Regions from separate parts of the Homo sapiens genome. Here all the other regions are linked to region 3. Evidence: promoter capture Hi-C in 16 types of primary human blood cells and fetal thymus (Javierre and others, 2016). All regions are on one chromosome and are shown on one strand. Each heading gives the region's core, a stretch centred on a gene start or on the middle of the fragment in contact. The rest is flanking DNA. Distances are from core to core; before and after follow the strand shown.

The links. Contacts are between HindIII fragments. The CHiCAGO score rates a contact against its expected background, and 5 or more counts as called.
Region 1: a contact is called between a fragment that was not itself captured here and the fragment with the promoter of NKX2-2 in region 3, in 1 of 17 cell types (neutrophils). The highest score is 6.1, in neutrophils.
Region 2: a fragment that was not itself captured here is called in contact with the fragment with the promoter of NKX2-2 in region 3 in 1 of 17 cell types (M1 macrophages); the score reaches 5.0 in M1 macrophages.
Region 4: a fragment that was not itself captured here is called in contact with the fragment with the promoter of NKX2-2 in region 3 in 13 of 17 cell types (neutrophils, monocytes, M0 macrophages and 10 more); the score reaches 8.5 in neutrophils.
Region 5: a contact is called between a fragment that was not itself captured here and the fragment with the promoter of NKX2-2 in region 3, in 10 of 17 cell types (M0 macrophages, megakaryocytes, erythroblasts and 7 more). The highest score is 9.5, in M0 macrophages.
Region 6: a contact is called between a fragment that was not itself captured here and the fragment with the promoter of NKX2-2 in region 3, in 2 of 17 cell types (activated CD4 T cells and naive CD4 T cells). The highest score is 7.9, in activated CD4 T cells.

Annotation. Positions count from the first base shown.
Region 1 is chr20:21,072,486-21,076,196 of GRCh38, reverse strand. No RefSeq gene overlaps it. Among named protein-coding and RNA genes, the nearest start is that of LINC00237, 32 kb to the left of the region's middle. The HindIII fragment of the contact is 2,250 bases long and covers 890-3,139 here.
Region 2 is chr20:21,184,805-21,189,062 of GRCh38, reverse strand. All of the region lies in intron 6 of KIZ (kizuna centrosomal protein), which reads right to left. Among named protein-coding and RNA genes, the nearest start is that of KIZ-AS1, 31 kb to the left of the region's middle. The HindIII fragment of the contact is 1,442 bases long and covers 1,022-2,463 here.
Region 3 is chr20:21,511,234-21,515,446 of GRCh38, reverse strand. It overlaps NKX2-2 (NK2 homeobox 2), which reads left to right and starts at 1,383. Exons shown (of 2, transcript NM_002509.4): 1 at 1,383-2,036; 2 at 2,962-4,213. The coding sequence starts at 1,778. The coding sequence ends at 3,524. The HindIII fragment of the contact is 7,883 bases long and covers 1-4,213 here.
Region 4 is chr20:21,210,712-21,214,729 of GRCh38, reverse strand. KIZ (kizuna centrosomal protein) reads right to left here. Exons shown (of 13, transcript NM_018474.6): 8 at 30-195. It overlaps KIZ-AS1 (KIZ antisense RNA 1), which reads left to right. Exons shown (of 8, transcript NR_109956.1): 2 at 708-819; 3 at 1,138-1,194. Among named protein-coding and RNA genes, the nearest start is that of KIZ-AS1, 5.6 kb to the left of the region's middle. The HindIII fragment of the contact is 1,909 bases long and covers 296-2,204 here.
Region 5 is chr20:21,248,768-21,252,626 of GRCh38, reverse strand. No RefSeq gene overlaps it. Among named protein-coding and RNA genes, the nearest start is that of KIZ-AS1, 32 kb to the right of the region's middle. The HindIII fragment of the contact is 168 bases long and covers 2,419-2,586 here.
Region 6 is chr20:21,123,028-21,126,909 of GRCh38, reverse strand. It overlaps KIZ (kizuna centrosomal protein), which reads right to left and starts at 828. Exons shown (of 13, transcript NM_018474.6): 1 at 706-828. The coding sequence starts at 794. RefSeq lists enhancers at 310-359, 1,260-1,359 and a silencer at 520-1,099. The HindIII fragment of the contact is 481 bases long and covers 1,252-1,732 here.

The DNA of each region.
Region 1 (3,711 bases), core at 765-3,264, 440 kb after region 3:
AAGCCCGTTGTCAGTCTTCCAGCAAGAACGTCTTGGGTTAGAATATTTGTAGTTTGTAAACATTCTGCTGTTGTAGGCTGATTTGTGTTCTCCCAAAATTCATAGGTCAAAGCCCAAGTCCCAGTACCTCGGAGTGTGACTGTATTTGGAAATAGCTCCTTTAAAGAGGTAATTAAGGCCAGGCGCAGTGGCTCAGACCTGTAGTCCCAGCACTTTGTGAGACCAAGGCGGGCGGATCGCTTGAAGCCAGGAGTTCGAGACCTGCCAGGCCAACAAGGCAAAACCCTGTCTCTACTAAAAATATAAAAATCAGCTGGGCATGGTGGCATGTGCCTGTAATCCCAGCTTCTCAGGAGGCTGAGGCAGGAGAACCGCTTGAACCTGGGAGGCAGAGATTGCAGTGAGCCGAGATTGCGCCATTGCACTCCAGCCTGGGCGACAGAGCAAAATCCTGTCTCAGAAATAAATAAATAAATAGGTAATTAAGATAAAGTGAGTCATATGGGTGAGCCCTAATTCAATCTGACTATATCCTGATAAGAAAAGGAAACCCACACACACAGAGAGACATCAGGGATGCCTTCGCACAGAGAAAAAGCCATGTGGAGACGCAGCAAGAAGACAGCCACCTGCAAGCCAAGGAGAGAGGAGGCCTCAGGAGAAGCCAAACTTGCCTCTGACTTTCAGCCTGTGGATTGTGAGAAATAAACTTCTATTGTTTAGGCCATCCAAACTGTGATATTTTATTACGGCAGCACTGGCAAACTAATATAGTGGCCCAACATACAGAGGGTTAAATAAAATTCAGATAATCTCTCTACCATTTCAGAGGTGTTTCTCCTATTTAGTCACCAGCTATATATTTAAATGTCCCACAATTCTTAAAGCTTGGCTCTCTGAAAACCGATTTAAGAAAAATACAAATCCACAGTTATTTTTTTTTTAAACTGGACTTGTGTGCAAGTTATTTATTGGCTGAGTGGCCAAGATGTTGCGTGCAGTTTCCATTCAGAAGGTGAGGAGTGAGTGAGTCATACCAGAAAACCACAAACACAGTGCTCATGTTCAAAATGAAGTGTCTGTGCCCATCAAGCGGAGCCTCTTGCCTTTGTCCATCACAGGCATCGAGCCTCTTCATGGTCGCCAAAGTTCGTTAATAACGTTTGTGTCTATGCTAATACAATCAGAAAATTATGCAGACCGTCTATTTCTTCCCAGAGAGAACAGGGTGATCAGCCATTAGTGATTCACACTGATGAGCCTCCACTAATTGCACAGAATGTAATTAGTGATTATATAATATTTGAGCTCTTGCAACTGTCATTAATGTCCACGATTCACCAGAGATGGGCCCTGCTGAATGGAGTATGATTGCCACATGCGAAATCTAGTTAATCCGAGGCATGTTAATCAGCACAGGATGCTCTTTAGGCAGTGGTTAAAAGCACTGGTGACCTCAGGAAAAAAACCCTTGCCATCCACCGAAGTCTGAATTGCATACAATACAGATCCCTTTCACAAGGGAAATTTAATAATTAAATGGCCTGGAAAACTTGAGGGCAGAGTTATCAGATGGTTTTAACACATTTAGATTTTTCTGTAACAGATATGGTGATCAAAATGTTGTATTGGTGCTGGCATTAATTTATGATACATTAGACTACTGGCTCAGGGTATATGATGTGTCAAAGTTATGATGGACTTGTCATGTGGATAAGGAGAACTGGATTAAAAAGTAGTTCTTTCTAAGAGGAAAGATGATTATATATAATTGTCCAGAGACCTATTAGATAGAGCATAGTTTTCAAGGTTCATTTCATGGAAAAAAGTTTTAGAAGTAATAACGTTCCAAGGTATTCTGCTTCCTGTAATAAAAGTTGGGTTCTAAAATGGATTCACATAATCATACATTTCACCATGTTCTGAGTCACAGTACATTTTAAAAACATTTGTAGCAGATGCTACAAATTATATATATTTTTTGAGACAAGGTCTCACTCTGTCACCTAGGCTGGAGTACAGTGGTGCAATCATGGCTCACTGCAGCCTTGCCCTCCTGGGCTCAAGCAATTCTCCCATCTCAGCCTCCCAAGTTGCTGGGACTACAGTGACGACAGGTGCATGCCACCACCTCAGCTAATTATTTGTTTGTTCGTTTTGTAGAAATGGGGTCCCACTATGTTGCCCAGTTGGTCTTGAACTCCTGGGTTCAAGTGATCTTACCGCCTTGGCCTCTCGAAGTGCTGGGATTACAGGTGTGAGCCGCTGCACCTGGCACCTTCCCTTCTTATCCTCCATCCTACCCAGCCCCTGTCATCATAAGAGACGGTAACCAGCTGCCGGGACTTCCGGCAGCCTCTTTATATGTGTGGCAAGCCCTGAGTAGTTCTCTCCTAGATATGTGGTTTTTACCCGTAAATTTATGTGAATTAAAATCTTTTACAATAACCATAATTTGTGTTTTAAGTGACAGTACATATAAACGGCTGTTTCCAATGCGGAATTGTACACGTTTACAAATTTCCGAGGCCTGAGTAATTTAATATGGTCCAGTTTTTCATAAAATAATATGGTTGTTGTAGATTCTAAGGGAAATAGCAGCTTGTGATTTATGTGATTTCCTCCTGTTTATGTATTTTATATAAATAGTAAATACATGGGCATCTTTGTTTCTTAAGGTGCTTTCTAGTGGTTGTTTAAGCAGCTCAAAGTCCTTTAGGTCTTGTTTGCCAGACACTGAGGAAAGTTCTGCTAAATAATAGGGGCCAACCAAGGTGGCTCACATTGGTAATCCCAGCACTTTGGGGGGCAGAGGCAGGAGAATTGCTTGAGGCAAACAGTTCAAGACCAGCCTGGGCAACATAGTGAGACCCGGTTTCTACAAAAAGTAAAAATAAAAATTAGCTGGGTATGGTGGTGTGCGCCTGTAGTCCTAGCTATTTGGGGAGGCTGAAGCATGAGGATGGCTTGAGCCCAGGAATCTGAGAATGCAGTGAGCTGTGATTTCTCTACTTCACTCCAGCCAGGCCACAGAGTGAGACCCTGTCTCTAAGCAACAACAACAACAACAACAACACAATAGTAATAATGACAGGAACTTGTGTGGCCACTTACTCTATGCCAGGCACTAAGCCAAGCTTTCTGCTATAAGAACTAGTGTCATCTCCAGTTATAGATGAGGAAAATGTGGCTTAAAACAACAGGCAGATCACTTGAGGTGAGGAGTTCGAGACCAGCATGGCCAACACGGTGAAATCCCGCTTCTGCTAAAAATACAAAAATTAGCCGGGTGTGGTGGCGGGCGCTTGTAATCCCAGCTACTTGGGAGGCTGAGGCAGGAGAATTGCTTGAACTCGTGAGGCAGAGGTTGCAGTGAGCCAAGATTGTGCCACTGCACTCCAGCCTGGGCGACGAAGTGAGACTCAGTCTGAAAAAACAAAACAAAACAAAACAAAACAAAACAAAACAAAACAAAACAGTTAACTGATGTCCTGCCTATGATGTCATGATCTATACATGGTAGACAAGCGTCTGCATAGAGGTGCCTTGCTTTAAAGCCCATCACTGTTCTAAGGCTGAAAATGGAAGACATTAGAGAACTTCCTTCAAATTCCTGATTCTCCTTCATTTGCTCAGACTGAGTTAGGAGCCAGGACACTGCAACAGACAAGGTTATGTCAGCCAGGGCATTCCCATACATATTAGCTCCCC
Region 2 (4,258 bases), core at 493-2,992, 330 kb after region 3:
AGACCAGCCTGGGCAACATAGCAAGACTCCGTCTCTTAAAATAAAATACAAAACAGGCTGGGCGGGGTGGCTCACACCTGTAATCCCAGCACTTTGGGAGGCCGAGGCAGGTGGATCATGAGGTCAGGAGATCGAGACCATCCTGGCTGACACGGTGAAACCCCGTCTCTACCAAAAAAACACACACACACAAAAATTAGCTGGGCGTGGTGGCAGGCGCCTGTAGTCTCAGCTACTTGGGAGGCTGAGGCAGGAGAATGGCGTGAACCCAGGAGGCAGAGCTTGCAGTGAGCCCAGATCGTGCCACTGCACTCCAGCCTGGGTGACAGGGCAAGACTCCGTCTCAAAAATAAATAAATAAATAAATAAATAAATAAATAAATAAAATAAAATGCAAAACAGATCTCCAGGGCTTATTATGGAGCCAGCTACCTAAAGTGACCGCTTTAAATATCTACTAAAAAAAAAAAATGTGGAGGGTGTAGGGTCAGAAGGGGTGATCCCTTTCCTCCTCATCATAAGGGTCACAGTCAACACCCTTATAACAAACAGGTTAACAGAAGAAAACAAAACAAATTTTATTTGATCATTGTTTTCTGTGACATGGCAGCCTTCAGATTGAAGACCTAAGGATATTGGGAAAACTTTCCATTTTTATGCTGAAGTTCAGTGAAGAACAGACAACCATGTAGAACTGTGCTTGGCCAAGAAGGTAAGTATGATTGAATGCTAACAGACTGAGTGGGGAAACTCTGCCAGGCCTGTCTGTTCATTCTTCTTGGCGTCTCTGTGCAGTGTTCCTTCCTCCCTGGTATGGGGCAGGACCCTTTCTGAAATGGGGAGTCTTACGACTCACAATCAAACAGGGTAGGTTAGAGAATTTCTTTACGGCCAACTCTGCCACAGAAATACAGGAGGGAAATTCGAGTAATATTTTTAGGTTTTATGGCTGGCTTTGGGGAAAATGGGTTCAGGTTTTTATGATTCACTTTGAGGAAAAGGAATTCTAGTTTCTAAAGCTTACCTCTGAGAAAATGAGGCTGAGGTACAGGAGAGTGGGAGAAGATCAGAGAGAAACTTACTTCTGGGGCCTTCCCTTTGGGGTGTCATTTTCTGAGGCCCAACGAGGGTAAATGTCTTATTATCATACAACTTTATGCCTTCCCCAAATTTAATACAATTAGGCTCTGTATTTTCAAAAAGTTTTAAAATACTACAAACATATCATAAAGAATTTACTAGACATTATAATCAGTTCTATCATTAAACTCTAGAGGTTAAATGATGATGATGAAAAGGTATCTGGTGTTGTCAAGGTAGAATTATCTTTGTGAGGATTAACGGCTGACGCAGGACCATAAAACAAAACATCAGACTCTGCTGTGTTGTTCCATGTCTGTCTGTCTGTTTCTATCCATATATACACGTGTGTTTAAGAGAGGAGACGAGGAGGCTCAGACTGGGCTGGTGAGGGTTACACTAGGTGAGCGGATTCAGGGAGAAGGGAAACAAGAAGGCATGATGGCACGGTGGATAGGCTTACTGAATTTCGGCTCAGGCAATGCTGAGACCCTGAAATAAGCTGCCATGTCACTTCTCTAGGATAAGTGAGTCTCCACAGAGGCCAATTTAGTCTGATGAATGGGAATGGGTCTAGTACAGAGTTATCCTCCACTGAGGGGGCACTCAGATGAGTAGGGCAGGTCCCATCCTGGGTTCTGACTTTGCTCGGGGTCTACTTCCATGATAACAGTGAAATGCCTGGCTTATGAATATCATGCCTCCTGCTCCCTGAGCATGGTAGACACCAAATATAGGATGGCTGAAAGGATTGGGCTGGTTTGCTGTTGAACCCTTAGAGGATCAATATAGGTTGAGTATCCTTTATCTGAAATGGTTGGGAATTTGGATTTTGAATTTTTTCAGATTTTGAATTGTGTTTTTTTTTAATTTTTATTTTTTGATTTTGGAATATAAGTATCCCAAATCTGAAATGCTCCAATAAACATTCATCATGTTGGCACTCAAAAAGTTTCAGATTTTGGAGCATTTCGGACTTTGGATTTGGGGATTTGGGATGCTCAACCTGCCCTGTATTAAACTGAAGATGCTGAATCAATTTATTATTCAAGTGCTTGTTTGTCTAAGAAGCTGCTAAGAGGAAGCCAAAGACAAAAAGAAGAAATAAGAAAAATGAAAGTGGACAAGAACAAGTATTATGAATGGATAAATGGATTAAGTGTGGAAGAAGGGAAGGCGGGATGTAAGCAAGAAAACAACAAAAGCTAACTGGCTCTCCTAGGACAGCCTGTTAGATTTGAGTTTGTTTTCTTTACTGTAGTGATTCTCAGATATATTTTAGTAGAATTATTCTACATTTGAGTAAAGTGGTCTTTTCTAAGTTCTTAGGAAAATTACTCTTTATAATTTTGAGAACCTTCCCAAAATTGGTTTACTAAAGCTTTGGCATCTGCTATCTAGTTTGCCTACTAGAAGATAATAAAATGAATGAGAGTACCGAATGAAAAATAATGGAAAGTATGGAAGTAGCTGGGAACCAGATGCAATGACCTCTTTTGTCAGTGTCAGAGTTTAGGGGATGTCAGACAAGTCCCAATTCCGGGTAAGTGGACTTTTCGAAACGGAAGAAACGGATTCCAAGTGTACTCATGATTACAGATGCCAGTCATGCTCCTAAAACAACCATGCCCAGTCCAGTCCATCACATGGACATCATATGTCCATGTGATGTGTGACACAGCTGATCAGTAAGGATAATCAGTCTCATGACCAGAAATTCTTTTAGGGATTTGGCTATCCTGGAAAGCAGTGCTTTTCAACGTTTAAGGTGGCAGAACACCTGAAATTCACAAAAATTTTTGCCATGAAGTATTGATATATTCCATTTATCACATAAATTAGAACATTTTTTACTAGTAAACAATAAATATATGTACACAATATAAAAATCAAACCATTAACACATACGTCCATGATTTAAGAATCTGTCGAGATCAGCAACTTCCATACTTTCCATTATTTTTCATTTGGTACTCTCATTCATTTTATTATCTTCTAGTAGGCAAACTATATAGCAGGTGCCCAAGTTTTAGTAAACCAATTTTGAGACGGTTCTCAAAATTCAAAGATTAATTTTCCTATGAACTTAGAATGTAGAATAATTCCAGCAGGGCATGGTGGCACACGTCTGTAGTCCCAGTTACTCGGGAGGCTGAGGCAGGAGAACTGCTTGAACCTGGGAGGTTGAGGCTGTGGTGAGCCAGGATGGCGTCACTGCACTCCAGCCTGGGCAACAGAGCAAGACTCTGTTTAAAAAAAAAAAAAAAAGTAGGGTTGGGCGTGGTGGCTCACGCTTGTAATCCCAGCACTTTGGGAGGCTAAGGTGGGTGGATCACTTGAGGCCAGGAGTTCGAGACCCTGTTGGGCAACAATGGTAAAACCCTGTCTCTACTAAAAGTACAAAAATTAGCCGGGTGTGGTGGTGGCTGCCTGTAATCCCAGCTACTCGGGAGGCTGAGGCAGGAGAATCGCTTGAACCCAGGAGGCAGAGGTTACAGTGAGCCGCGATCATGCCACTGCATTCCAGCCTGGGTGACAGAGTGAGAATCCGTCTCAAAAAAAAAAAAAAAAAAAAGGTAGAATAATTTTACTAAAATATATCTGAGAATCACTACAGTAAAGAAAACAAATTTGAAACTAGTACTGTTTTCAGATTTAAAAACACATTTCCAGTCCATCAAAATAACAAGCAAATCAAAATGAATTTACACTGACAAAGGAAAACCGTCAGAAAAAAAGTGAGAAAAATAGTTGAAAGCCATAAAAGATAGGGGACTCAGAACTATTCCTCACATCTCTCTTGTAGGTTAAGGTAATATTCTAAAGCTTCCAACCCAAATTCAAAATAGATTCAGTATAAAAGTACAGAAAGCACGTGCACGTGCATACACACACGTACACACAGACACACACACACACAATTATTTTTTTCCTTTCCTTGAGACAGGGTCTTGCTCTGTTGCCTGGGCTGGAATGCAGTGATGCAATCATAGCTCACTGTATTTCCCAACTCCTGGGCTCAAGCAAGCCTCCCACCTCAGTTTCCTGAGTAGCTAGGATTACAGGTGTGTACCATCATGCCTGACTAACTTATTTTTATTTTTATAGAGCCAAGGTCTTGCTATGTTGCTCAGGCTGGTCTCAATCTCCTGGCCTCAAGTAATCCTCCCACCTCGGC
Region 3 (4,213 bases), core at 134-2,633:
GTGGAGCGCGTACTCCGAACGCACCCAAGGCGTCCAAAAAGAGACCACACTAAAGAACTCGCGTGGGAGAAGAAAACTGGGGAGAAAACGAGGCATCGTCGGGCCACCCAGCGACCCCCCTCCCCCGCAGCTTTCTGGGTCTTCACCCAGGCTGGAGACACAACCCCCACCCCCACCCCCGCAATCCCGCCCCGCCGCCTTCCCGCTGCTCCACCTCTAGCCAGAGGCTGGAGAGGGAGGGGGCCGGAGAGGGAGGGATAATAGAGGGCAGGAAAGAGCAGGGCCGTCTGCCCTTTCCTCCACCCGGGGAAAGAGGCCCGCAGAGCCCAGAGGCAGCAGGGCCAGGGTCCGACCCCAGACGAAGTTGGAGCTCCTCACTCTTACCCCGCCCTCCCCGGGACCGCCCGCAAAGCAGAAAGTGAACTGCGCGTCCTCCTTGGCCGCAGAGAGGTGGAGGCGGGGGGTTGGGGGTGGGAGGTGGGGGGAGGCGGAGTGAAGGAAATAAATGAGTCTTTAGCAAATAAAGGGCGGCTGGAAGGGGGCGGGTCGCTTGGTGGTGGCTCTGGCCGGCCCGGAGCGGAGCTCTCTCCTGGGTTTTGGGCTCTCTCGCGGTTAACTGGAATCAATTACTTGCCTTGTCATTTCTAGCACTCATCCTTAAGCCTCAACCAAAATATTGACCTAGGAGGCTTACAGAAGTTGGGCTCTTGCCATTTGAACCGGATCTTGTTTAGGCAACCACCAACGATGGAAAGGAGAGATTTCCGCAGCTCGGCCTTCGCCCCCTCCCCCTTTTCCAAAGGCGCCACAAATCGCCAATTTTCCGGCTTGCCGGGGGTGGGCGCGCGGGGGCGGGGAGGTAGGAACCGGTGAATGTTAAAGAGGATTTTTTCCCTCCTCCTGGTTTCTGTTTTGTTTTCTCCCCTCCTCCTCCCCACCCCCACCTTTTTTAAGATGCAATTTGTTAAAACGGCCCTTTCAAGTGTGTGGACTCGCGAGCGACGCGGTGGCCCTTTGTATGTAAATACTGGGTTTAAAAAAAAAAAGGCTCGCCCCGTCTTTGCAATTAATTGACACGTTACACCTCTCATCTTGCTCTAGAGGGCCGTTGGCTGGGAGCGCGGAGCTCCCCAAAACCCACAATTTCACATCTGCAAATACTGTCTTCATCCACTTGACTCCCAAGACCCGCCCACACGTGGCCAACCTTTGCGTTTTTAATGTCTCTTCCCCCTTTTTTCCACCCTTCTCCCGCTCCCTCTCTCGCTCCCCCTCCCTCCCTCTTTCTTTCCCTCCCTCCCTCTCTTTCTCCCCCTCTCCCCGCCTCCCCAGGTTCGTGAGTGGAGCCCAGCCTTATATGGACTGATCGCTCGGGCAATGGCCCATTTTTTCCTCGCCACCAGCCGCCACCGCGCGCCGAGCGGCCGCCGGAGCCCGAGCTGACGCCGCCTTGGCACCCCTCCTGGAGTTAGAAACTAAGGCCGGGGCCCGCGGCGCTCGGCGCGCAGGCCGCCCGGCTTCCTGCGTCCATTTCCGCGTGCTTTCAAAGAAGACAGAGAGAGGCACTGGGTTGGGCTTCATTTTTTTCCTCCCCATCCCCAGTTTCTTTCTCTTTTTAAAAATAATAATTATCCCAATAATTAAAGCCAATTCCCCCCTCCCCTCCCCCAGTCCCTCCCCCCAACTCCCCCCTCCCCCGCCCGCCGGGGCAGGGGAGCGCCACGAATTGACCAAGTGAAGCTACAACTTTGCGACATAAATTTTGGGGTCTCGAACCATGTCGCTGACCAACACAAAGACGGGGTTTTCGGTCAAGGACATCTTAGACCTGCCGGACACCAACGATGAGGAGGGCTCTGTGGCCGAAGGTCCGGAGGAAGAGAACGAGGGGCCCGAGCCAGCCAAGAGGGCCGGGCCGCTGGGGCAGGGCGCCCTGGACGCGGTGCAGAGCCTGCCCCTGAAGAACCCCTTCTACGACAGCAGCGACAACCCGTACACGCGCTGGCTGGCCAGCACCGAGGGCCTTCAGTACTCCCGTAAGTAGCAAAACTTGGCTGCCGAGGCCGTGGTCCCCTCCATTCCTGCAGCCGCAGCCCGGGTTGGACGCTGGGAGTGAAAGGGGAAGGGGCCATGTAAGCCCGGACCCCCTCACTCGGATCCGTAGAAAGATTTTTAACACCTGTATAGGATGTCCTCTGCCCTCCTCTTCAAGCCTCCTTAGTTCCGGGAAAGAACTTGGTCTCCAAAATTTTTTTCAATGCGAGAAGTTAAGGAGAAAGAGGGAGAAGGGCTATACCTCCCAGGGGCTGGTATATGATGTCAACCCGGACCGATGGCTCCAGCCGCAGCCCCCGGACTCCGGCCGCTGGGAGGGACTGGCCTGGCGCCCTGGAGGTAGCCAGCGAGCCTCGTCCGGGTACGGGTGGAGGGTGGGGAGGCTTCGGGTGGCCCGGGTATAAATAGCTCACCCTGCCCCCTGCGCGATCATAGAGGACGCTTTGTGCAGTGCAGGGGGTGTCTAGAAGGCCCGAAAGCAGAAACGAAAGCCCCCAAAAACCTGCCTTAAATGGCCGAGCCGATCAATGCTGGGATTGTGGGGTATTTCTTTTAAAAATCTGCCCACGTCTCGCCGGAGAGGAAACCGCTTAAGGGCGCCGGAGCCCTTAACCCGCGATGATCTTCAGTGCCACTTCCCCCCCCAAATTCTCACCCACACTATGTGAGCCCCTTGAAAGGCGAGCCCCTAGCCCCCACTCCTACGGATTTCCCTCTTTACCCTGGGAGGTCCCGACGTCTTCGTCAGGCGTAGAGGAAGGCAGGGGTCATGGCAAAGGCAGCGGGGCTGGGCTGCCAGGCGCGGAGGTCCAGGGTCGCACGGAGGATCCAGGGTGCTCCGAGTCTGGTGCAGGCTGCGCGCGGCCTCCAGACGCCTGACGCGCTTCTCTCTCCCCCTCCCCCCAGTGCACGGTCTGGCTGCCGGGGCGCCCCCTCAGGACTCAAGCTCCAAGTCCCCGGAGCCCTCGGCCGACGAGTCACCGGACAATGACAAGGAGACCCCGGGCGGCGGGGGGGACGCCGGCAAGAAGCGAAAGCGGCGAGTGCTTTTCTCCAAGGCGCAGACCTACGAGCTGGAGCGGCGCTTTCGGCAGCAGCGGTACCTGTCGGCGCCCGAGCGCGAACACCTGGCCAGCCTCATCCGCCTCACGCCCACGCAGGTCAAGATCTGGTTCCAGAACCACCGCTACAAGATGAAGCGCGCCCGGGCCGAGAAAGGTATGGAGGTGACGCCCCTGCCCTCGCCGCGCCGGGTGGCCGTGCCCGTCTTGGTCAGGGACGGCAAACCATGTCACGCGCTCAAAGCCCAGGACCTGGCAGCCGCCACCTTCCAGGCGGGCATTCCCTTTTCTGCCTACAGCGCGCAGTCGCTGCAGCACATGCAGTACAACGCCCAGTACAGCTCGGCCAGCACCCCCCAGTACCCGACAGCACACCCCCTGGTCCAGGCCCAGCAGTGGACTTGGTGAGCGCCGCCCCAACGAGACTCGCGGCCCCAGGCCCAGGCCCCACCCCGGCGGCGGTGGCGGCGAGGAGGCCTCGGTCCTTATGGTGGTTATTATTATTATTATAATTATTATTATGGAGTCGAGTTGACTCTCGGCTCCACTAGGGAGGCGCCGGGAGGTTGCCTGCGTCTCCTTGGAGTGGCAGATTCCACCCACCCAGCTCTGCCCATGCCTCTCCTTCTGAACCTTGGGAGAGGGCTGAACTCTACGCCGTGTTTACAGAATGTTTGCGCAGCTTCGCTTCTTTGCCTCTCCCCGGGGGGACCAAACCGTCCCAGCGTTAATGTCGTCACTTGAAAACGAGAAAAAGACCGACCCCCCACCCCTGCTTTCGTGCATTTTGTAAAATATGTTTGTGTGAGTAGCGATATTGTCAGCCGTCTTCTAAAGCAAGTGGAGAACACTTTAAAAATACAGAGAATTTCTTCCTTTTTTTAAAAAAAAATAAGAAAATGCTAAATATTTATGGCCATGTAAACGTTCTGACAACTGGTGGCAGATTTCGCTTTTCGTTGTAAATATCGGTGGTGATTGTTGCCAAAATGACCTTCAGGACCGGCCTGTTTCCCGTCTGGGTCCAACTCCTTTCTTTGTGGCTTGTTTGGGTTTGTTTTTTGTTTTGTTTTTGTTTTTGCGTTTTCCCCTGCTTT
Region 4 (4,018 bases), core at 1-2,500, 300 kb after region 3:
CTGTGGACACACACTTTAACAATAGTTACCTTGTTCCCTTGTAGGAACACTGTTGAGCCATACAGCAGGTTTGGCTTCCTTTATTCCACTATTGTCATTCAGAATAGATGGCAAGCTGCAAGATGATTCACTACTGTGAATAGCTGACCTACGGCCACACTCTTCTGTAAGGGCTTTTCTCAATAATGCTGTTGCCTACAGTGTTTCAAAAAAAGCACAAAGAAATAAAAACAAACTGTAGCCACATTCCTCTTGGTCTCAAAGATAGCCTTCAAATATAATTTTAAGTTAAGCTTTACTTAGGATTTAATCTGTTTCCCACATTTAAATGAAATTAAAATGTCAAGAAAAAAAACACCTGGTTATTTTCTACTATAATCTAATTCTTTACAAGTTACCCTCACAATAATACACTTTTTGAGGGCTGAATCTTATGTAATGCAGAAATATTCTTCTGCTTGTTAAGTATGTATATGAAACGTGACCACCTCTGTTAATCTGGGCAGGTTTATCCTCCCTTCGATATATACAAAAGGTAGAGCCTCAGACCTCCTTTCTGAAGGAAAAATTTATTCTTTGATTACATGAATCCTATTTTCTAGGCATGTCAGACAGAATTACTTTCAACTGAGAAAAAGATCCGGAAAGATGTGACCTTGCCATATCCCCACCCTCCTAAAAATGACCCATGAATTTCCCCTAAACAGGAAGATTGCAGAAAAATTTGTGGCTGAAGAGGATGCACTGAGAAGAAAGATAACTGCCCTTATTCTAAATCCCAATCTTCAATCAAGTACTAAGATGGTCTGCACTTTGCCTGTAAGTCGTCTGGGGATCTGGGGAAACTCACCCACCACACTGCCTATCTTTTTTCAAAGGCATTGTCTTACTTAAATGCCTCATGTGTCCTGAGCAAGGAGGAGGACACAGGTTTTTATCAGAGCCAACCTTAGAGGTGGAGAAAAAGGGGCAATTCACAGGACTGGGGTTAGTAGCCAAGTCTTTTGATTTTCAGGTCAGTACTTTCCCCTAAGAAATACAAATATGCTGGTAATAAGAGTTAAACTTTTAGTAGATAACCATTGGTCACATTATCCCGCTGCCAGAGTGTATGTTTCTCTCATTTCCTATTGACAGGTGGCGATTTCCTTAGGTAGCTGGAGAGGAAACCTCGGTGGTGGTGGTGACCCACAGGTAGCTGACAATGACAGTAAATACTGGGTAGTGTTCAACCCAATTGTGGGAAAATGCACATGACAGTTTAAAATTAATATAAAGAGCAGAAGTGGACAAATGTTCACAGGTCATCATTAGCCAAGAGTGAAGTGTTAACAATGTAACTATCCAGTGAACAAGGTGGAAAAAACAACCTTCCTTGTGATTAACATGAAACAAGGTGAAGACACTCCGACAGGGAGAGTCAGAGCATGGAAGGTCCGGTCGGAAGGCCCGGACGGAAGGCCCGGTAAGAAGGCCCGGACAGAAGGTCTGGATGGAAGGTCTGGTCTTGCATGTTTGGCATTTCAGACGCTTCAAGGCAACTGCCTTTAGTCCTGACTTCCCTGCAGAGTTCTTGCCTTCTTCCCTCCCTAGTACTGGCTGACCTGGACCCATGGCCTACCTGAGGAGCTGGAGTAGCTGATTGGGGGATTTAAGGAGTTCTAGTCCCCTTGGCCAAAGAACTTGGTGTCAAGTTAGCCTTGCAGCCAGGACCTTTCTGTGGTGCAGTTCTAGTGACCAGGGGCTTTTCCTCTATTTCTAGAAACTAGTCCCTAGATTTCACTCCACTGTGATAACTCTGTTGGGATGACTTGCTCAGTATTCCCATTTCTGCAGTCTAGGGGTAGGGTCCTGCCCTTGAAGGCCAGGCCAAGGCTGGTTCCCATCACTGCCCCCATCCCAACTGCCTACACAGACCACTGCACTGCACCTGCTTCTGGAATCTACTACAAACACCTTTCTAATGAGTCCTTGTAGGCTTGACAAGAATACTGCCATTGCCAACAGTTCTGCACTGAGCCCTCTTTTCCACGGTGAGGTAAATAATGTGGTGGGCATACTGCACTGCTAGTTCAATTTACTTTGTACACAGACGCTCCTTCAATTTATGAAGGGAGTTACATCCAATAAACCCACAAATTGAAAAAATTGTAAGTCAGAAATGTATTTAACACACCTAACCTACTGAACATCATAGTTAAGCTTTGCCTACCTTAAACTGCTCAGAACACTTACATTAGCTTACAAATGAGTAAAATCATTTAACACTAAGCCTATTTTATAATAAAATGTTGATTTTCACATGTAATTTATTGGATACTGTACTACTTGTAGTATGGTTTCCACTGAATGCCTAACACTTTCACACCACTGTAAAATCAAAAAATTGTAAGTTGAACCATTGTAAGTTGGAAGTCAGGGACTATCTGTATTTTATCCCATTTATCTTCACTACTCAATACTTATCTCCAGGATTTCTGTTACTTTTTTGATAGAAATGTTTATAAAAGAACACATCTTTTAAGATAATTCCACAGATAATTTCTCAAAGATGATAAGCAGGGACGAAGACAAAAGTTAGTCTCAGACAAGGATAGACAAGAACAGGTCACAGATTTCTAGTCAAAAACAACTTCTTTTTGAGACAGAGTCTCTCTCTCTTGCCCAAGCTGGAGTGCAGTGGCGGGATCTTGGCTCATTGTAACCTCCACCTCCCAGGTTCAAGTGATTCTCATGCCTCAGCCTCCCAAGTAGCTGGGATTACAGGCGTGTGTCACCAAACCAGGCTAATTTTTGTATTTTTAGTAGAGACGGGGTTTCACCATGTTGGCCAGGCTGGTCTCGAACTCCTGTCCTCACGTGATCTGCGTTCCTGGGCCTCCCAAAGTGCCGGGATTATAGGCGTGAGCCACTGTGCCTTGCAAAAACAACTTCTGCAGTCAGGAAAACGTCTGTAACACATTCTCAAGATGTACTGTTTGCAGATGTTCCAGAAAAGTGTATTTCTAAGGAAACCTCCAATCTGAAGGAGTTTGCAGTCTGAGACTGATGACACTAACACAGAGAGAAGCTCAGAGAACAGTTAACAGGTTGCTTTATTACATCTCATGCTGGGACTAAATGGGTTCTGCAAATTGGAGCTAATTCTCTGAAAAAAATGCCATTAGACAACAATTTTACCACAGGCTTTCTGATAGTGCTTATGATTGAACTATGCTTGGGTTTCAACTTACCTGTTATTAATAAAGGCTCTCTTTTCGGAGGCCAGAAGAGAAAACTAGAGATTGTTCCATTGGTCTCAGCAGTCTGAAGGCTAAGTCAGTACGAACAAACCACCCCCTCACTTTTCAGCCTCCCCAGGAGCCAGGAGAAAGGACTTGGAAATTAAATGCCAGGGCACAAACTATTTGTGGAATGACTGATGTTGACACCTCCATATTTCAGACATTATGGCAGATAAATCGTTCTATGAGTTACACCTACAGTACTATTCCTTTATTAGCCCAGTTCTACTAGAATTTTCCTCCATGTTCAGTTTAAATATTAATCTTGCTCTATCTAGAACCCCAAGAATCATCTAAGCTGACTCTTAAATTATATCCAAAAACTTACGGTTGTGATATTCAAATGTATAAACAGACAGATGTAAGACATTAATAGAAAAGACATTGTATCCAAAACACCATTAAGAAAATTAAAAGACAAAAATTAAACTGCTAAAAAGATTGCAACAAAATGTCCAAATTTATATTTAAAAAGTTTTTGCAAGTCAATAAGAAATAATATTACTAACCTAATACAAAAATGAGCAAAGAACATGAGCTGGCAAATTATGAAAAAAGAAATACAAATAGCTAATAAATAGGTAGAGAAAAGTTTGACCTCAATTGTAATAAAAAGGTCAAATTAACAAAAAAAATTGGATGTCATTTTCATCTCTCAAATTGCTGCCCCTAAAAAAAAAAAAGCTGATAGTATCTAGTTTCATAAAGAACTCAGAGAAATGTTATTTTCATCC
Region 5 (3,859 bases), core at 1,253-3,752, 260 kb after region 3:
GCAGCCTCGACCTCCCTGGACTCAGTGATCCTTCCACCTCAGCATCCTACGTAGCTGGAATTACACACACGAGCCACTGTGCCTGGCCACTTCTGTACATTTTAAACCAGAGCCATTTGAGATAAATAGAAAGTAACTAAAAAGAAAAAAGAAAGGTTAAATTGTAGCTGGAAAATTTTGCTTGCTACTAGTGTGGGGTCCTAGGCCTACTCTATTGCTACAAAGTAAGAAAATGGTTAGCAAAGTTTTAAAGACTAGCAGCAAACCTAGGCTTTCTTCTGGACTATCATCAGTGCAGCATGTGATCTGTAGGTAAAAGATGTTAAGATGTAGGACTCTGTATACCCCATCAGCATTGCTGACAAATAGCAAGTTAGTGCCCTGGTTGAAGGCCTGTTTTGTTTTCTTAGTGGGTATCAATCTTTTAAGCCTGGTAACATTGAGATTAAAAATAGAAACGTTTAAGAGAATGAAAAAGCATATGTGCACAGAAAAAGTGTGAAAGGGTATCACCCAAGTGTCAATAACATTTATTGATGGAGGTTAGTTTATGTGGAATAATTTTAGATTTGTTGCAAAGATAATGCAGAGTTCTTATATACCCCTAGCCCAGTTTCAGTTGCCCTTAATATTATCATCTTACATTGCTGTGGCACATTTGTCAAAACTAAGAAACCAACATGGTACATTAATATTAAACTCCAGACTTTACTCACATTTCACCAGATTTTCCGTGAATGTCCTTTTTTTGGTTCGAGGATCCCACCAGGGCCCCACAATGCATTTTAGTTGTCATGTCTCTTTCTCCTCTGGTCTGTGAAAGTTTCTTAGTCTTTCCTTGGTTTTCATGACACTGTCTGTTTTGAGGAGTAATGGCTGGGTGTTTTGTCAAATGTCCCAAGGTTATCTGATATTTTTCATGATTAAGCTGTGGTTAAGATTTTTCAGAAAGAACACTATAGAGGAGAAGTGCCCGTCTCCCGGCAGCATGTCAGGGTTCCAGATATCCACACGAGTCATGACTCATGGGTGTTAACCTTCATCACGTAAGGTGGTGTCAGGCAGGTTTCTCCACTGTACCATTACTATTTCCCCCTTTCCATCTCTATTCTGTGGAAGTGAGTCACTAAGTCCAGCCCACATTAGAAATGGGGGGAGGAGGGAGAATTCAGTTCTACCTCTTGGGTCAGATGGTTGGAGGAACCCAGTTCATTTGCTACTTTCCAGTGGAGATACATACAAATACCCAGGGAAATGCTCCAGATGCTGTGCCTGCTTTCCAGAAACCACAGAGGGCTTCCCCGCAGGCTGTGGTTTCTGGAGGTTTTCCTGTCAACAGACTCCCGTTTATTGACTACCACAGCTCAGTTCTAAAAATGTCCCCCAATCCCTGCCCCAAGGTGTGCAACTTGTTCCTCACCTTCTGCAACTGTAATTGTTACCACTTCATTTAGAAATAGTCTAACCACAGATACTTGAGGTTCTTAACTGGAAAAAGGAAAAAATATGTTCTTTATTCAGAATCAAATTTTCTTTAAAAAAATCTCAAAGGTGTAATGTTTATTCAGTGAGCATTTAGGAAACCTTGCAAGTCTCACCACTCCAAAATTAAATTACACGTGGCCTAATCAGAATATACATAAATAGCTGGGCGTGGTGGCTCATGCCTGTAATTCCAGCATTTTGGGACGCAGAGGCGGGCAGATCACTTGAGGTCAGGAGTTCGAGAATAGCTTGGCCAACATGGTGAAACCCTCTCTACTAAAAATATATAAATTAGGCATGGTGGCGCATGCCTGTGATCCCAGCTACTCGGGAGGCTGAGGCGGGAGAATCACTTGGGAGGTGGAGGTTGCAGTGAGCTGAGACCCTGCCACTGCACTCCAGCCTGGGCCACTGAGTGAGACTCTGTCTCAAAAAAAAAAAAAAAAAAAAAAGAGTATACGTAAATGGAAGAATAGTATATTGGTCAGGATAGACCAGAATTTTCCTGTGGTAACAACCTGCCAATTCCAGTGGTGCAAACATGATTAGCAGGGGAGGTCTGCTCTTCCTAGTCACTGATGCAGCCAGGCTGATGGAGGCTCCACTTGTCCCATGCTGCCATGGCTGCTGATGCAGGAAAGAGGAGAGAATCACACATAGCACTAAAGCTTCTAACCAAAAGTGGCATTGGTTACTTGTGTTCACATTGCATTGGCCAATGCAAGCCACATTTTTCCATTTAACTTCAATCCTTGCCAGGCACGCTTCTCTTTGTCTTCTTAGTGTCTACTGACAAGTTAGTATCTATATTGCTCTTCACTTAGCTGCCATATTTATGTATCACTTTTGACCAAGTTTTCTAAAATGAGAAGTTTTGATGAATAATGTCCTTTTTGACTCTAAAATTCAAAGACCATGTGATCTCTAAAAGCTTTTCCAGTCCTAAAATAGCGTGATTCTAAATCTTTCCATCGTGTGCTTTGAGCCATAAAGTACCCCCTTTATTTATGTGGAGAATTACCATTAGAGTCAACTCCCATTATTTAATAATTGTGGATAGGGAAGAGAGAATATAGAAAAATAACGCTGTAGTATAAAGCTTAAAAGTTTTAAAAACCAAAGAATGAAATATTTTATTAGAACAACTAAGCCAGAACAACATAATGAAGAAAAACAAAAAACAAAACAAAACAAACAACAACAACAAAAAACCAAACAGCCAACATTCCTTGCCTCCCATCAAATGGATAAAAACATGGATTTCAGAGTTGGATTTATTTCCTCATAGTAGATAGCTGTCTTTCTAGAACAGTGATTCCCACAGGAATCACTAAAAATGCAGATTCCTAGTCTCTACATCAGCTTTGAGTTGGTTTCTATGCTGAGCAAGCAAAGTGTCTGGGTTATAATAGGGTGCTCAATAAATAGCAGCTATTTTATTATTAGCAAATTAATAATACCCAAGTTATACCTTTTTAAGAAGAAAGAAAAAGGAAACCCATGGCAGGATTTTTCTTAGTTGCCAAGGGCAATATCAAGACACCTGCTGCAGAAACTCAGGTGTGAAGGCTCAGATGGGGATGGTGATGATGGCAGGGAAGAGATAGGAAAGGCCTTGGTAATTTGAGTGGAAAGAAGGGAGAATAAAGGAGTGAATCAAAGACATCTCCCAAGTTCTTGAGTAGGTAAGTGACAAGCAGGAGGTGATTTAAAAACAAAATACACACAATGCTTTAAAAATCATTTCAATTTCAGAGATTCTGAGGGCTCAAAGGAAGCCAGAGTAGTCACATGACCCACCATGAGTCCCAGGCTCCTGAGTTGCACAATTAACTTCTGACATTGACTAAAGTGACCATTTAAAAGTGAGAAAGTGTTGCACCAAGAGTTGCCTGTAGTCACTACACCCCAAGATGTATGAATTACCAATTTCCTTTTTCTAAACAGTATTGACATGTAATTTACAGAGCATATAATTCACCTATTTAAAGTGTACACTTCAATGGTTTTCAGTGTATCCACAGAATTATACAATCATCAGCACAATGAATTTTAGGACATTTTCATTATCCCTGCCAAAATCCCTCATATCAGTAGTCACTCCTCTCCCGACCCCAGGCCTAGACAACTACTCATTTGTCTATGGATTTTCCTGTCCTAGACACTGCACAGAAATGAATCTGACATTATGTGGTCTTTTGTGAGTGACTTCTTTCACTTAGAATAATGTTTTCAAGGTTCACCCATGTTGTAGCATGGATTAGTACTCCATGCCTTTTTATTGAGGAATGATATTCTACTGTATGGATATTCTGTTTATCCATTTATAAGTGATGGACATTTGGGTTGTTTCTACTCTTTGGCTCTTATGAAT
Region 6 (3,882 bases), core at 243-2,742, 390 kb after region 3:
AAGAGGTCCAGCAATTTATCTTTTACGTGGTTATTCATAGTACATTGCGGTATAATTTTCTCTCTATATGCACTCTTAGATCTAGCTGTTTTCAGTGGTTCCCATCTTTCATATCTTAATCAAAGGCATCATGAACCCTCTGGAAGCTGGACTTCTCTAGCTGGAAATTTCATCCCTTCGCTGGAAATCTAGCCAGCCCTCGCTACCCCTAAAAGTCTCCTGAGTTTAAACGGGGGCACATGTTTGACACACACACACACAACCGTCTGCGTTCCAGGACTTGTCATCATTGATGCAGTGCAGCTGTCACGGCGGGATGGCAATTTGAAGAGAGTGGGGAGGGGGCGTGTAAAAGGGGACAAGAGAAACTCACAAGGCTTGATGGAGAGTGACAGGCAGAAGAACTCCCACCTTCACTTCTGGGCAAATTCTGTGACGCGGCCGCATCCTCAAACCGTAGACCAGGCTTTAGCTGCTATTGACGGGGCGGGGGCGGTCTCTCACCTCTCTCCGCTCCCACCCCCAATACAGGGGGTGGCTCTAGTAAACACTGTCCTCCAGGCCCCACTGGGAGCCTGGGGGGCGTTGCGCGCGGGCCTGGGCCCCGGGGAACCTCGGACGGGGGAGCGGGAAGGAAAATGGGGCAGGGCACGCGGAAGACCCCCGGCGCGGGCCGACTCCCCACCCCCGCCCCAGTGCCCTTACCTGTCCCGCAGCCCGTGCTGGAGTTGGCCCAGCCTCTCGTAGTAGTCGGGACTCGACAGGGGCACGGCCGATGCGAGGGTCCGGCTCATGCTGCTGCCGCTGCGCCAGCTCAGCACAGCCTCTGGGTGGCCGTTCGGCCGGGGTTGCCGAAGGAGACCGCCCCACCATGCACCGCGGGTAAACACCGCGCCGGGCCGCCTGCAGGAGGCGGGGCAAGACGCCGTGGGGGCGGGGCGCCGCTGAGGGACGGGGCGGAAGCCGGCTTTGTGGGGGGCGGGACGAAGACCTGCATGGGGCGGGGAAGAGGCGTGGCAGAGGCGGGGCGTCGTGAGGCCGGGGCGGACCACGTCGGAGGGGCGGGCGCTCGGTGCCCTCTCCTCTCTCCCTTGACGCGGTGTCTCCTTTCCCCTCACCTTCCAGGATTCGCACAAGCTACGTTAATGTTACAAGGCGCATTCCCTCCCTTTCTTTCGTCTCTCGCTTGCTTCTTTTCCTCGATCTCCTTTCTTGCCAGGATTTGTTGAGTGCCAGGCACTGTACTAAGCTTGTTCTATTATATCAGCACTCAAAAGCGACACAAAACACCAAGTAAAAAAAGACAAACCCTCAAATGCTAAACAGCCGTGCTCAGCCCCGACAGTGGACCAACCCCTTACTCGAAAATCCGTGCTGAATCTAAGGATTGTTCCAGGTGCCAGTATCGTTGGCGAGAGGGAAAAGTTGATAACTAGTTGCTTGGGAAGCAGACGTTTGTGCAGACAGCTCTAAGGGACAATGCTCCTAATGTCCTGTAGGATCCTCTAGCAGGAGCCCGGGAGCCAGACTGCCTGGGTGTACATTCCCTATCCACGTCCCAGCTGCCAAGCCGTGTGCAAGTCACCCCAGGTTTCCTCATATGTAAAGTGGGAGGCTGTTAACACAGGATTAGTTTAGGATTCGATTGTTAATATGTGTTAGTGTTTATAAGTGGGCCCAGCACATAGAAAGCATCAGGTTTTATTATCATCACCAACGTCGGGAAAAAGCTTCCTGAAGGAAGCCAACCATATTTCAAAACCCACTGGGCAGAAAAATTAAGCCTTAGCCTGCTTCTCTGCCTTCCTTTCCTTTTTTTTTTTTTTTTTTTTGAGACAGAGTCTCACTCTGTTGCCCAGGCTGGAGTGCAGTGGCGTGATCTCGGCTCACTGCAAGCTCTGCCTCCCGGGTTCAAAAGATTCTCGTGCCTCAGCCTCCTGAATAACTGGGATTACAGGTGTGCGCTACCACACCCAGATAATTTTTGTTTTTTTTGGTATTTTTTATATTTTAAGGAGAGACGGGGTTTCACCATGTTGGCCAGGCTGGTCTTGAACTCCCAACCTCAGGTGATCCACCCACCTTGGCCTCCCAAAGTGTTAGGATTACTTGCATGAGCCACCATGCCCGGCCTGTAGAGTTTCTTTAGTCTCTTATTGTTCACTTCTTTTGGTTTCTTTCCTATGCCATTAATTTTACTTACACATACAAGGTGCAAGGTGTGACAAACTAAAATTGTAAGAGAGATGGAACACTCAAAGGCCAACAACACAAAACTATGATTTTACTCAGCCTTCCATTCACATTTGCCAGTTCCAGGGCAAGAGTGTGAATGGAGGCCCTCATACCATCCGCCTAAATATTGAATTATAATTCAAGATAACAAACTTAGGTAAAATACGTGTTCTCCTCTCCACTTTGACCAATATGCCTTCTTAAGAACCTGGACAACCAGGGTGGAATTTAGTTTGCCTGCTTCTCCAGCTCCCCCCAACTCCATTTCCCACCCCAGGCTCAGTCTTGCTTTGTGAGGGGGTCTCATACACTAGCAGGGATGTGTGTGCCCTGCCTCTTCTCCTCCTCTTCTCCAGCCAGCAAGTCCCAACTCTGCCTACATCCCCACCTCAGCCTCCTCTTGGCCGGGCAGTGAGCATGCCAGTGATGGTCACCCTTGCAGGAAAGACCCAGCCAAGAGGCCTTTTAAAGCCTTAGAAAGCAGCTTGGGCCCCTTTGAGCAGGGAAGGTAAGGGTGTTGGGTACTTAGAACGTGTTCTAGAAGAGCATGTGTGTGTATGTGTGTGAGCACCCCAGGTGGGCCTGTCATCTGGCCCTGGGACCTCCTTGCCTTGCGTGGAGCAGCATGGGCAGAGAAGGGCTAGAACAGAACCTCTAATACACAGAAGCCAGGGCAGAGGCCTTCTTGCCCTGGTCCAAGGGTAGCACTGATGTGACTTTTATTTAGTTTTTATTCAGATTATATCCAATTGATTCAGTGGTAATGTGCAAAGGTTTATTTTAATGAGTTTAGTGTAACTAACATTTTACTACAACCCTGGCAAAGAAAAGAAAAGCATTAAATTTTTAGGATATTTTATTTAGGACCATGCCCCCAGGGTTAGTTTTTTTTTTTAAGAAAAAGAATCCCCAAACAATTAATATAACTAATTTTAGCAAGTAGCACAGAGTAAGCAGATGAGGCAGTCATTTAGCACCCAAAATTTTTATTAGGCCATTTTAGGAGAATCTAAAATTAAATGTAATTAAACAGTAAATAGATAATTCAAAATAATTATAATTTACATCCTATGGTTGATTCATTAATGACGTATGACAAATCTAGATGTAGGATCTCCTTTATTAACAATAACACATAGCAAACAAAAGGAATATTTCTAGAGTATTTATGCTAAAATTATGCATTTTAAATGGTGACAGGCTTTCAATAAATTCTGAGTTCTTCACTTTGAATATTTAATTTGCCAGAGCCCTCTATTTTAATATTTTTCTTCAAACTCTTTATTTAGCTGAGCTGATTTCTGTAAGCAGCCCTGCTTTTAGCTCACTGGACCAAGGGTCATCAAGTCTGCCTAGATCAAGGCTTCCTCTAAGTCCTAGAATGTCTTAGCTAGAACTTAGAGGGAGTCTAGCCCCACCCCCTTGTTTTACAGGGGAAAAAGGGTTCAGGGCAGATAAGGGGCTTGGCCAAAGTCACCTAGCTGGAAATCTATGTAATATTAACGAGTCTAGTTCAAAATATGGATCCCTAGTGGTCCCATTAAGCAAACAGCAAGGGAAGCCAGTGTCTCGGCCCAGAAGTCACATGAATCTTTGGGTGAACCAAATGAAATTGTTGTTTTTGTAGCTCAAAAACAAAATTGATTC